2 separate regions of the Homo sapiens genome follow, and region 2 is linked to region 1. Evidence: promoter capture Hi-C in 16 types of primary human blood cells and fetal thymus (Javierre and others, 2016). All regions are on one chromosome and are shown on one strand. The core of a region is centred on a gene start or on the middle of the fragment in contact, and the rest is flanking DNA. Distances in the headings are between cores, read along the strand shown. Region 1 holds the start of KLHL38 (kelch like family member 38). Region 2 has its middle 44 kb from the start of NTAQ1.

The links. The method cuts DNA at HindIII sites, captures the fragments that hold promoters and counts their contacts. A CHiCAGO score of 5 or more calls a contact.
Region 2: a contact is called between a fragment that was not itself captured here and the fragment with the promoter of KLHL38 in region 1, in 1 of 17 cell types (naive CD8 T cells). The highest score is 5.3, in naive CD8 T cells.

What each region holds. Positions count from the first base shown.
Region 1 is chr8:123,648,738-123,655,480 of GRCh38, forward strand. KLHL38 (kelch like family member 38) reads right to left here and starts at 5,064. Exons shown (of 4, transcript NM_001081675.3): 1 at 4,849-5,064; 2 at 2,840-4,190. The coding sequence starts at 4,189. The HindIII fragment of the contact is 6,101 bases long and covers 1,670-6,743 here.
Region 2 is chr8:123,457,103-123,464,263 of GRCh38, forward strand. It overlaps a transcript of NTAQ1 not described here. Among named protein-coding and RNA genes, the nearest start is that of NTAQ1, 44 kb to the left of the region's middle. The HindIII fragment of the contact is 5,920 bases long and covers 2,399-7,161 here.

The sequences.
Region 1 (6,743 bases), core at 3,814-6,313:
AGAAACAGGTAGAGAGAAGGCCAGGTGGAAAGGTACAGGTACAGTGCGATTTGCATCGTAACCCCATGGCAGTGTAGTTCTGAAAAGAACGCACACACACAGATGAACAAGCCTATGAAGAAAACTCTCAACCAGTGCCTGAAAATCCAACCTGCTCCATCAAGTGACTCCCAGCATTCATTTTAAACTATATTCGAATGAGTAGAATGTTTATTTCAAAGCTAGTGCAAAGTAGATAAGAAAAGCATCCAAATGAATACTTTTCCCCTTCTCTGTCTTCTTAATCCTGAAATGCAAAAGGATCCCTCAGAGGTTTAATATTTTCTTGGCTTGGCAACATCTTGTTTGATGGTACTATACATTTCTTGATATGCTAGCTTGAAGCTTAAACTCTGAGTTTTATTCTCAGAAGGTCAATGGCAGTTTTGCAATGTGAAATAATGAACGTATTTGTTGACTGTTTTGAAAAATAGAAAAGAAGGAGGGGCTCCAGCTTGACATGGAAGCACTTTGTTATCTGTCTGGTGTGGTCAGAGCCTGGAGGGGAGCAGAATGTCTCCCCCACTTCAAGTAGAGGAGTGGGATTTGGAACAGCGATTCTAGAAAGACTCGGAATCTGCCTGGATGGTCAGGGAGGAGCTGAAAATAATGGCTGGAGAAGTGAAGGCAAGAAAAAAATCTTCACTGGAACTGACCGAGTCCAAGCCATCACCACCCTTGCCTGGAACTCTAGAAGAGTCTCCCAGTTCTCCCCTTTGTCCACTCAGGCCCCCTCCAATCCCTTCTCTACAAGGCATCCAGATGGAACTTCTAAAAATGTGAATGTGTTTTACCTCATTCACCTTTCTTGAAAGCCTTCAATGAAGTTCTGTTCCTCTCAGGCTAATCCCAATTCTTTGACAAGGCCTAGAAAGCCCAGCCAGGCCAACCTCATCTCCACAGATATCCATCCCTCAAGAAGGTTCCAGGATTTTTCTAGGAGGGGCTCAGGGGTTGCGATGTGGGCGGAGGAGGTTGCTCCCGGTAGCCTGAGAAGGGGGCTGATGGAGATTGCATGAGGACTGATGCCCGCCCCTAGCCACCCCTCTGCACACTGCCCTTCTCCTCTTTGCTCTGTCTTGCAACTCCATTGTCCTGCTTTCCGCTGCCCAGGGCCATGGGCTGCACCTGTTTGTGCTTCAGGGCCTTCATGTGAGCTGCTCCCTTACCCAGGACCACTCCCCCTCCCTCAAGAGAGAACTCTGACTCCGGCTTCAGGAGGTGCAGGAGCTTCCTGCATCTCCCTCTAAGTCGGATCTTCCCTTACATGCTTTCTTAGCACCCACCCCACCCCTCCCCCTCCTCTTTTATTCTCCATCCCCACCTTCCTCTCTCCTCTCCTGCCCCTCTGCTCAAGTCAGCTTCAGCCAACTTCACAGGGTTTGCTCCAACATTCCCTTAACCCTGGCACTCTCTCTGATTCTCTCTGGACCAGCGGTGTCCAATCTTTTGGCTTCCCTGGGCCACATTGGAAGGAGAGTTGTCTTGGGTCACACATAAAGCACACTAACACAAATGATAGCTGATGAGCTAAAAAAAATCGCTAAAAAAAATCTCATCATGTTTTAAAGTTTATGAATTTGTGTTGGGCCGCATTCAAAGCTGTCTTGGGCTGTATGCGTGTTGGGCAAGCTTGCTCTAGACTGGTTTAGGGCATCCCGCCTGTGCTCTTAGAGCACCCCTCTCTTCAGCGTCTGAATTGCAACTGAGGGTTATGTGTAAATTGCTGGGTCTCCAGGCCCTTCACAATGGTTGATGTTCAACATAACTCTCATAGATGAGCAAAGTACATCTCGTGGATGCTTCTGATTGTCTGTAAAGGCAGGCTCAATATTCACGTTCTGCAGAGATTACCAGGAACTTGCATAAAGCTGGAAAACACTTAATATTCTGAAATGTGGCCTTTATTGAGCATACTTCTCAGACAGCTTGTTAGTGAAATTAATGTCTGCCGATCATTAAAAGTAGGGGTTTCCCAACCTGGCTGCAACTTAGAGTCTCCTGGGGACTTTTGTAAACCATACATTTTAGGATCTCACACAAAGATATTTTGATTCAGTGATGTGAGGTCAGGTTCCAGGGGATTTGGTCACAGAGGTGTGGACCAAGGCTTGGGAATCTTCTTTTAAGGCCTTACTGACTTGAGTTAGAAGCACCTGCCAAATTCCTATGGGACTTCACTATCTGACTTTCAATATGCTGTATAATAACTTGAATTTTTAGATATATATTTTTCTCATCAAATGAAGATAAACTCTGTGCATAGGGATGGTATTTGATATCCTTTGTTATGTATTATTTTTGCACAAAAAAATTCATAAATTGAAAAATATCTTGCTGAAAATCCTTCTTCCCTCCCTCCCTTCCTCTCTTCCTTCCTTGCAAATAACAAGTGTTGGTATGTGTGTACATGGGTGCACATGTGTGTGCATGTATGCATGTACGTATTTGTGTTCGTGCATATGTATAAATGTGTGCATGCATGTGTAGATATATGTAAATGTGTGTATGCATGCATGAATTGTATATGTGTATGCATGTGCACACGTATGCATGTTGGCATCTGCATATATGTGTGCATATGTGTATGCATGTATGCATGAATATACATTTCTGCATATATGTGTGCACGCATGTATGCATATGTGTGTTTGTGTATATGTGTGCATATATATATTTATGTGCATATATGTGTTTTTTGGTGTGTATGTATACATGTGCATGTGTGTGCAAGCAGGTGTGGGTGTGTCCAAGCACACATACTCATGCAGTTACGTGATGGGAAGAACCGGCCATTTACCTGGATAAGGCGCACAGGGTTCTGCATGATGTCCTCTCCTCCAAAGAGATAGAGTCTTTGGTCTTTCACAGCGACTGCGGGGTGGAGCACCCCCACGGGCATGCTGGCCATACTCTCCCAGACATTGCAGATGCTGTCATACCTTTCCATGGAGCCCATGAGCTCCTGCCCTTCTCCAATCCCCCCGATGGAGAAGATGAAGTTCTTATGGGCAGTGCTTCTGTGGGAGTAGCGGGCCACCAGCATGGGCTCCCCCAGCCTCCACTGATTGAGTTTCAGGGAGAAGATGTAGACATTGTGACTGACCAGACTCCTCCCTGAGCTGACAGCCATGCCCCCCAGCACATAGATGCTGCGGTGCAAGGTGATGGCAGAGGCCTTGTACAGCCGTGTCGGGAGTTTGGCAAGGCTCTGCCATTGGCCGGTCTGTTTGCTGTACAGTAGGACGTCCCTGGTGGTCTGCTGGCTGTCCTTCCTTCCGCCCAAGAGGATGAGGAAATCTTGGTAAGAGTTTCTTGGAGGGACATGCAACAGGAGTTTGCAGTCTGGGACGGTGGTGCCACACAAAGAGAACATCTGTCTCTTGGCGGTCTCCAAGATGATCTGGCATGCAGGCGAGGACTGCAGGAGGGCATCGTTGGCGATGAAGTGGTGAAAGAAGGCTGGGTGGATGTACTGCAGCCTGACCTGCTTGAACAGTTCCTGCATGTATCGCTTCCGGGCCTGGAGGTCATGCTTGATCCAAACCATGAGGGCCTCAAACACCTTTTCCTCCTCCCCACAGAGCCCATCATCTCCGAGATAGTCCCTCAACTCCAAGGCACAGAGCTCCTTCAGGTCGGCCGATGCGGCCACCTCTGGGAAGGACGTCAGTGCCACCTCCCTGGCTTTCTTCTTGAGGGTCTCGCAGCTTAAGATTTCTGAGAGTCTGATCATACCCAGGCAGTTGCTGGGGGCCAACTGGCTCTGCAAGTACGAGGAGCAGGCCTCAAACAGCTTGGGGAACTGTAGCATGGAGGCGGCCTCCATCACGGGGAGGACATTGTCAGTGGCAATATGTGCCTCCCCCGTATACACGTAGGAGACGATCTGGTCCAGGGTTGGGGGGTCAATGCCTTTCAGCTGCACTTTGGCTTCACTCTTCTCCCGGAAGCTGCTGCAGAACATAGCCCTGAAGTAGGGGCTGCTGGAGGCCAGCACGTTGCGGTGGCAGGGGATCTCCCGGGCACCGGCACAGATGCTCACATCAGTCAGGATCCTGCTTTGCCTTAAGCTGTTGAGCTGCCTCAACAAGTCAGAAGAGAAGTCGTGGTCTTTGAAGAGCAGCCCATCTAGTGACTCCTCGTCCATCCTACAAAGAGGGAAGGAAGCCCCCAGAGTCAGCAAGAGTCAAACCTTTCTCAGCTGCATGTGCTGGAGGGTTCAGCTGTGGGGACTCCAAGACCAGTGCTCCTATTCCATTCCCCATGATGTTTGCGGATGTCACCATGGATATTGTGTAGGGAAGATTGGAAAGGAAGGCCACATACATCTCAGACCTGAGCCCTTTTGGGTTATGGTTATTTTCAAAAGTAATAGGCAAATAGTATCTTCAGCTAATCTGAGAGAAACAACCAAACAAACAAACTAAAGTTGTTGGAAGTTACTCTGTTATCAGAAGCTGAAATGTTAGTCTGAAGCAAGATAACAGTCCATGGATTTGACCAGCAGAAGTTCATGAGCCTTTTTCCAGATCGATGGCATATCTGTTATTGAGTAACAGATGTCTAAACCTCTCTTTCTGGGTGTCAATCATTCCCCAAGGATGATATTCTGGAGGTGTGGCCCTCTGGTCACTGGACAGAAATGAGGGAAGAAAATGGACCTTTGATGCATATATTTAAATATGACTTCATTGAGTCTTGTTTTAAAGATAGAATAAATAAAAGGAAAGACCAAACAATCCCCTGGTTTATTGGATGACACCTGGTTTTCTACTTGCAGAAGAAATAAGTATGAGGGACACTTACCTTGTTTTGCTGCGGTGACATCCACTGGTGCCTGGTCTGACTTATCCCCCCGGAGAGTTTCTACCTCTAGCTCCAAGGGAAACCATAAACCCCAGGCCTTTCTTTCAGTTGGCAAATGATTTGTCCTGGGAGATTTCTGGATTTGTTTATGCTGAAGGCACTTTCATAGTTTTCTAGAGCTTTGTGCAAGGACTGCTGGGCAGGGAGACAGTGTATACATTCCAGGGCTAAGAATAGTTGCATATGTACTTTCCACTGTTATGACATGTGACTTTCCAGTTGCCTTTTGCAGCAACCCGAGGGCCTGCAGGGCCGGCGCATGCCCACATGCCTCGTTTCCTTGGCAAGTGTTTACATCGGCAAAAATAGATCGGGAGGAGCGGCTTCTCTTAGAGAAGACTTTGCTGTCTGCTTGGAACCATCCCGAGTCCCCTGTCCTAAAAGTGCTTGGGAATTCTAGCCGTCTGTAAACAGGTTGCTGTGACCTGTGGAGAGTCACTGAAGATGGTTCTGGGCCACAGTGGAGGTGGCAGGTGGTCACAAGGGAAGCCGGAACATGAGCCTGTGGGTGCTATTCAATGGATCTCTATTTCCCACCATCTGCCTGGCGGGATCGCTGGGGAGAGCTGTGATTTCCTCCTCCAGGATCCTAGGTGATGAAATCCATGACAAAAGTTGTTGTTTTTTGTTGTTGTTGTTGTTGAGCATCCCAGGGTTTCCAGACTCCTGAAGGCCCAAACCTTTGTCAGGTCTCCTTACTCAGGAACCTCTGATTGACAGTGGTAAGGCCGAGCTCCTCCTGTCGCGTCTGCCTCTCCCAGACACGTGCTGATTGCTCTTCAGCTGGCTTTTTATAGTTCAGACTTCCTTTTCTGTCTTACTTTTCCATTTTGTCTTGTCTGGCAGCTTGAGCTAGAGGCAGGAGGCAAGGCATATTGCTTTAGGGAGAGAGAGAAAGAAGATGAAGGAGGATGAGGAGGAAGAAGAAGCAGGGACAGAGGGAGGGAGAGAGACGAGAGGAGGAAGAAGAGGAGGAGGAATAGGAGGAGGAGGAAAAGAAGCAGGAGGTAGAGAATCGGGGGAGGAATGATGATAGTGATGTGGTAGGAGGCAGCTTTCAATAACAATCAGAATCACGAGAGAGAGTGAGGGGGACCTCAGGTCTGTTCTGCCCCTGCCTTCAGGGAGGTCCATGATTGTCTTAGCCACAAAAGGCAGGGAAGCCTGACTTTGTCTCCTACTCAACGTCTTGCTCAACTAGTGCAATGGTCTTCCATGCATTTTTTTTTCTTTGCTCCTAGTACTTCTCTCTCCAATACATCCACCCTGTCTTCTCTGGAGCAGCCCCTGGGAAGGCAACTCAGAATTTGCCAGTCCCCAGCATCAGGCCCTTCAGTGGCTCCCCATGTCTGCAGGACTCCTTAGCCAGAATCGGACTGGTGTCCTGTCTGCTTCTGGAACCATGTCTACTGCCACTCATGTGTGGTAATCTAGCTCCATGAGACACTTACAGATCCTTGTATGCATCTGGTCACTGTTGGGGAAGCTGGGCTGGCCTGGCCTTTGGGACACCACAGGGCAGGGTGGAAGGAAGAGGGTTTCTCATTCACAGTTGCCGATCGTAGAGTGGATTATGCCCAAAAGAGTCCAGAAGGTCAAGGCCAGGGAAATGGATCCAAAACATGTTACTGGGGCCATGGGCCTGGAGGCCAGAATTAGGAGCAGGAGGCCTAAGCTAAGGGGGTCAGAGACCCATGGAGGCACAAGCAGGGAGCAGGTGAGAGGAGCTGTTCCTCCATATGTCCGAGTTGGTGAGCTGTGCTGGTGACATAATAAGTGAGTAGCCACATTCCTGAAAGAGCCCAGGGATCCTCTGATTCGTACTCTATCCCTTT
Region 2 (7,161 bases), core at 4,109-6,608, 190 kb before region 1:
GTCACCTAGGCTGGAGTACAGTGGCACAATCTCGGCTCACCGCAACCTCTGCCTCCCTGGTTCAAGCAATTCTCCTGCCTCAGCCTACCAAGTAGCTGGGATTACAACTGTGAACCACCATGCCCAGCTAATTTTTGTATTTTTAGTAGAGACGGGGTTTCCCCATGTTGACGAGGCTGGTCTGAAACTCCTGACTTCAAGTGATCCGCCTGCCTCGGCCTCCCAAAGTGCTAGGATTACAGGCATAAGCCACTGCACCCAGCCAAAATTAAAAAAAAAATCTTAAACATGATATAAATATTCTTTTGTATGTATTAGTTGGTGCAAAAGTAATTGCAGTTTTTGCCTTTACTTTCAAATTAAACCTATATTAAATATGTAATAAACCTATATTATATATGTAATACAATTAAATTTAAAGAGCAAGTGGAAATCTGTACTAAAAGATAAAAACGTGTATTTGCTTATATTTGTACAGAATATCTATAGGAATATCCAGTATCCAGTACCAAATTGGTAATATTGGTTGCTTCTGAGAAGAGAACTGGGTGGCTAGGGTCACGGGAGGGAGGGAAACTTCATTGTGTACCCTTTTGTGTTTTTAAGTGTTGTAAGCCCTGTGAATATATTACTTATTAAGGGTAGAATTGACTGGGCGCAGTGGCTCACGCCTGTAATCCCAGCACTTTGGGAGGCCGAGGCGGATGGATCACCTGAGGTCAGGAGTTCAAGACCAGCCTGACCAATATGGTGAAACTGCATCTCTGCTAAAAACACAAAATTTAGCTGGGCGTGGTGTCATGTGCCTGTAGTCACAGCTACTCGGGAGGCTGAGACAGGAAAATCGCTTGAACCCGGGAGGTGGAGGTTGCAGTGAGCCAAGATCATGCCACTGCACTCCAACGTGGGCTACAGAGCAAGACTCTGTCTCAAAAAAAAAAAAAAAAAAGATTTAAAATAAAAAAAAAAAACAAATAAATCACACTTCCCCTCACTGTTTTTTTTTTTTTTTTTGTAGAGACAAGGTCTTGCTATGTTGCCCAGGCTGGTCTGGAACTCCTGGACTCAAGCAATCCTCCCACCTTGGCCTCCCAAAGTGCTGGGACTACAGGCATGAGCCACTGTGCCTGGCTAACTTTTTTTTTTTTTTCAAACAAACACAACTTGAAACAAGTATAGCCTCAGATGTTCTCTCTGATCAAAGTTTCATTGACCAAGAGCAAGAAAAGCCAAAAGAAATTATTTTTCTGTTATACCGCTCCGAGCCTGTTTGTTTACCAATTCTAACCCTTTGATTGGGCTGCTGTGAGTGAAAGTGAGACCTTGAAATTGTGAGTCTAGGTGAAACCATTAAACAGCTAAGTAGCTGTCTGTGTGCTGGTCAGGGGTGTGTTTCTGTGGCATATATGGCATTAAGCTGCGATCTGGGTACAGAAATGCTCAGAAAGCCCATGAGCTCATGCGAAGAGAGAAAACCTTTTTAGCAGATGTGTGAGACAGGAAAAATAGTTGGTACTTTCTTTCTTTTTTTTTTTTTGAATCGGAGTCTCGTTCTGTTGCCCAGGCTGGAGTGCAACGGCGCGATCTCGGCTCACTGCAAGCTCCGCCTCCTGGGTCACACCATTCTCCTGCCTCAGCCTCCCGAGTAGCTGGGACTACAGGCGCCCGCCAGCACGCCCGGCTAATTTTTTGTATTTTTAGTAGAGATGGGGTTTCACCGTGATAGCTAGGATGGTCTCGATCTCCTGACCTCGTGATCCACCCGCCTCGGCCTCCCAAAGTGCTGGGATTACACGCGTGAGCCACCTCTATTAAAAATACAAAAAAATTAACTGGGCATGGTGGCATGCCTGCAGTCCCAGTTACTCCGGAGGCTGAGGCAAAAGAATTGCTTGAACCCAGGGGGCGGAGGTTGCAGTGAGCCGAGATCGTGCCACTGCACTCCAGCCTGGCAACAGAGTGAGACTCCGTCTCAAATAAATAAAATAAAATGAAAAAATTAGCCAGATGTGGTGGTGTGTGCCTGTAGTCTCAGCTACTCAGGAGGTGGGAGGATCTGTTTGAGCCCAGGACGTCGAGGCTGCAGTGAGCCGTGATTATGCCACTGCACTCCAGCCTAGGTGACAGAGTGAGATCCTGTCTCAAAAAAAAAAAAAGATGTAGATGAACAGCCAGATGAAGAGATCAGGTGTGGAAGGGTCCTGAGTGCAGGAGCTTCTGTCCCCATGGAGTTGGGGTGCACCACCCTCCCAGCACATGGACGTGTTCTGCTATCCGGAAGCTCTCTGAACCCCATAGTTCAGTACTTCGGCTTCATCAGGTAGGCATGATGGAAGATTAATTCAGTCTCTAGCCCTTCCCCATCTCTAAAGAATGGAGGATGGGGCTGAAAGCTCCAAGCTTCTAATCATTGCTTAGTCTTTCCAGTGAGCAGCCCCTGTCCAGGAGCTCACCAAGAGTCCCCTTATTAGAAAAAAAGATGTTCCTCAGAAAAATTCCAAGGGATTCAGGAACTCTAAGTCAGGTGTTCCTATTACTCAGGAAATCAAAGGTTTAAGAGCTCTGTCTCAGGTACCTGGGGCAGAGACCCAATAATTCCAACAAAAGTTTCTCCTAGAACCCCTATTGCTCAGGAAATCACAAGGGTTTTCGAAGCTCTGTGCCAGGAACTTGGGGTGGAGACCAATATACATCATTCTTTTTTTTTTTTTTTTTTTTGAGATGGAGTTTCACTCATTGCCCAGGCTGGAGTGCAATGGCACGATCTCAGCTCACCGCAACCTCCGCCTCCTGGTTCAAGCGATTCTCCTGCCTCAGCCTCCCAAGTAGCTGGGATTACAGGAATGCGCCACCATGCCTGGGTAATTTTGTATTTTTAGTGGAGACGGGGTTTCTCCATGTTGATCAGTCTGGTCTCGAACTCCCAACCTCAGGTAATCCGCCTGCCTCGGCCCCCCAAAGGGCTGGGATTACAGGCATGAGCCACTGCGCCCAGCCCAATGTACGTGATTTTTATTTCACAGCAGATATCTCTTGATTTCTTTAAAAAAAAAATCTTAAATAGTACCTTGAGAGAACCCCTAATGACAGATAATATGTATGGAGTACTCATTTTGTGCCAGGCACTGCTCAAAACTACTTATTGGGCATGAAATTATTAGTCCTTACAATAACCTTATGAAGTAGGAATGATTATTATCCTTATTTTTCAGATGAAGAAATGGGAGTGGGCAACTTGCCCAAAGTAGCACAGTTAATATGTAAAGGAATGTGATTTGAACCTGGGCCTGACTCCAGAATCACTACACCATAAAGTGGAGATTCAGTCACACTGGAATAAATCCAAAGGCAAAATGAGGGCATTGCTTCTTGTGCTGGTCTTGGGTCTAAGGAGGGGCATATTGCAGAGGTGAGAGCCAAGGGGAAAAGATGGAGTGGGCTGTCTGTGGCACACGGGATGTCTTTACTACTGGACAGCCTTGAACCACAAGATGTGATGTAGGGCTGAATCTTGTAGGAAAAAAGCGGTCAGGGTAAGCTCTTCAACATCAGATGTGAGAAGACCAGCGTTTTGCAGTGTCCTTTGGCTGTGGTGGACAGGTTTGGGCTGGCAGAAGGGTCAGTGGAGACCAGCTGGGGGAGACCTGCATGCAGTGGCAGGGGGTTGGGAGTGAAATGAGGGAAGAATGGACTTGGTAGGTTTGGTTTGACGACGTAGTGGAGTTTGTATTGGCTGAACGTTGCAAAGGAAGCAAGGAGAGAATAATAACATGCGCCAGCATCCAGAGATGAGTTGAGGAGGCGTGCCGTCTGACTTCTACATTCAGGCACATTTCACACTTCTGTCAGGTACTCTGCTCTGAGCTTTTGGAATCTTTCTTTCATGTATTCCTCCGTACAGTGTTTGCAGGTGGTGTATGGATGCTGTCAATCCCTGCTTTCCATAGGCACCCTCCTTACTATTCCTTGCCTAAGTGACCTAACACACTTGGTCCTGGCTTGGGCAGGCGGGAAGCATGGAGTTAATACATTCTGGAGCAGCCTTCAGCCCTGATGGGTGGGAGTAGGTGGATAAGTGGCTTAGCTTTCTTGCTCCTTGGAGGGTACAACTCTGGGCTAGACGCTGCACCATCTCCCAGGGTCCCCAGCAGCCTTGGTCCCCAGCTGCCCACAACAGCCTATCCTCTTGGCACCTGCTCAGTGACCTGGCTGGCTTCCTTGTTCCTTGACTCACGTCCCCACTCCCTACTGGTGTTTCCTAGGATCACCTACCAAATAAACAACTTCTACCGAATTTCCTGTCTCAAGGCATGCATTGGGGAAACTCAACCCAATGCAGTTTCCAGATGATAATATCTACACCCCGAGAGGTTATTTCACTTGCTCAAGCTCACATATCCAGTATGTAACAAATCTAGGACTTTAGCCCAGCTTTCCTTAGCCCCAGCCTGGTGTTGTCTTCTGCTCTACCATGCTTAGTATCTGCTATAATGACACCCTAGGTCCTTTCACATGTTGGGCTTTCCTGCAGGAGTCTGGCCTATTAGACCATAAACTCATAAAAAGCAGAACTATGACCTTGATAACTTTGTATATTCAAGAACAGCAGGAACTGTGTCTTTCAGCGAGTAGATGCTTAATAAGGATTTATTGAAAGGAAAGGAGATAGAGCAAGAGGAAGTATGTGAGGGGAAGAGGAGATGGGAGCATGAAATTGGGGCAGAGGAGAGAGACTCTTGTGCTCCTTCTTGACATGGGGCACAAGAGTGACTTGCTTTGGAGGAGGCTATGGCTAGAGTGTCACAGGCAAAAGCCCAGGAGGCCCACGGGTGAGCAGAAAATTACAGAACTTAAAAAATCATTTTTCTTGGAAATAATGTGTGAGACAGGGAAATCTAGTGAAAAAATATTTTTCAGTGCATGTATCCCTAAAAGGGAGGTTTTCTTTTTAAAAATTTTTTTTAAGACAGTCTCGCTGTGTCACCCAGGCTGGAGTGCAGTGGCGTGATCTCAGCTCACTACAACCTCCTCCTCCCAGGTTCAAGCGATTCTCATGCCTTAGCCTCCCGAGTAGCTGGGACTACAGGTGCATGCCACCACGCCTGGCTAATTTTTTTGTATTTTTAGTATAGAAAGGGTTTCATCATGCTCTCCAGGTTGGTCTTGAACTCCTGACCTCTTGTGATCTGCCTGCCTCAGCTTCCCAAAGTGTTGGGATTACAGGCATGAGCCACCGTGCTGGGCCTGTGTTTTGTTTTTAATATGAGATTAGTTATTATAACTTTGTAGAAAGAACATTGGGTGGATTTTCTCAGCAGAGTTAAGTCTACAACTCAGATACTCTAGGGCAGTAGTTTTTGAAGTACACAAGGCACTAGGACTTCTAAGGCACTCTCTTAGAAGCCTCCTCAAAAAGAAGGAGATGATAATAATTGATTACTACTTATTGAATTCTAATTAGACCATGTGCCAAGCCCCATGCTAAGTCTTGGTCTGTGTTATCTCATTTAATCCTCTTTGATATGAGTCCTGTTATCATTCCCACTTCACAGATTACGAAGCGGACACTCAAAGAGGTCCCCCAGCTAGTAAGTGGCCAAAGTGGGATTCATTTGACTGTTTGACTCCAGAGCTCATGCATTCATGGGCATGGCTACAGGTACCCTTCTCTTCACTCCTTCCCCAAGCATGCCCCCAATTCACCAGAATTGAAACTCAAGATTTTGACACCATAGAGAGCAAACTGGGGAACAGGAACTACACTGTTGGTTAGGACTTGGGAGAAGATAAATTAAAAAGTCTGACACTTTGATCACGTTCTGTAAAAGTCTTGGGGCTTTGCTTTCCCACTGTGAAGGGCATTTTGAAATACATCTTAATGAATGCATTCTGCTCTCTTGGTACACCAGGGGGAGCATTTAGTACAGGAATGGGAATACGGTGGCTCCAGGAAGTGACTATTCCTGCTCTTTGTAGGGAAGAACACTTTTTCTTTCTCTCTTTCTCACTGAAAAACACATTTTTCTGTTTGAACAGTTTGAAAGCAAGTTGCAGATATCATGAGACTTCACCTATAAATACTTCAGAAGGATTTCCTAAGAAAGATATTCTTCTGCTTTATGATGATATTATTATCACGTCTAAGAAACTTAACATTGATGCAACAATGATGTCTAATATGTGGTCTGTATTCAAACTTCTCCAGATATCCCCAAGATGTTCTTTATTGCTTTTTTTGGTTTCAATCCAAAATAAATTTTGTGTTCTCTTAATATTAGATCACAGTTATTCTTCTGGAATATTTTGCTGTGAAATGCTTATACTTTTTACCGTCTATTGAATAACTCATAAAGTTGATTTGCCATGCTTTATTAAGTTTCTCTTTGATTGATATTGTTTATTCCTATTATAAGTATACCATGATGTTAAGTGGGACTTCCCATTTCTCAGTTTTGACTCAGGCACCAATTAAATAGATATCAGAATCCAAAGTGAGTGTGAGATTGACGTGGTATACAGAATTCATCAAGTGTCACAGGTTAGGTTCCTCGTAAAAGGCTCTTGATGGACATTTGTATGGAGGCAGTTTATTGGGGGAGTGTTTGGGGCTCAGCAGCTAAGGGGGAAGAAAGGAAGCAGGATGAGACACAGGGAGGTGTTGAACTGTGATGCAATCCCTACTCAGCCAATCCCCAGAGACCTCTAGAGCTGGGATGGTGATATTTGGTTGTGTCCCCACCCAAATCTCATCTTGAATTGTAGCTGCCATAATTCCTACTTGTCGTGGGAGGGACCTGGTGGGAGGTAATTGAATCATGGGGGCATGTCTTTCCTGTGCTGTTCTCATGATAGTGAATACATCTCACGAGATCTGATGGTTTTATAAAGGGGACTCCCCCGCACATGCTGTCTTGCCTGCCGCCATGTTAAGACGTGACTTTGCTTTTCCTTCACCTTCCACCATGATTGTGAGGCCTCCCTAGCCATGTGGAACTGTGAATCCATTAAACCTCTTTCCTTTATAAATTATCCTGTCTCAGGTATGTGTTTATTAGCAGTGTGAGAACAGACTAATAGAGATGGTCTTGCAGAGTTGTTCCCTTCTGGAGCAAGGAGGCTGGGTCTTTATACCCCTAAAGGGACCAGTCAATGGATGCAGGT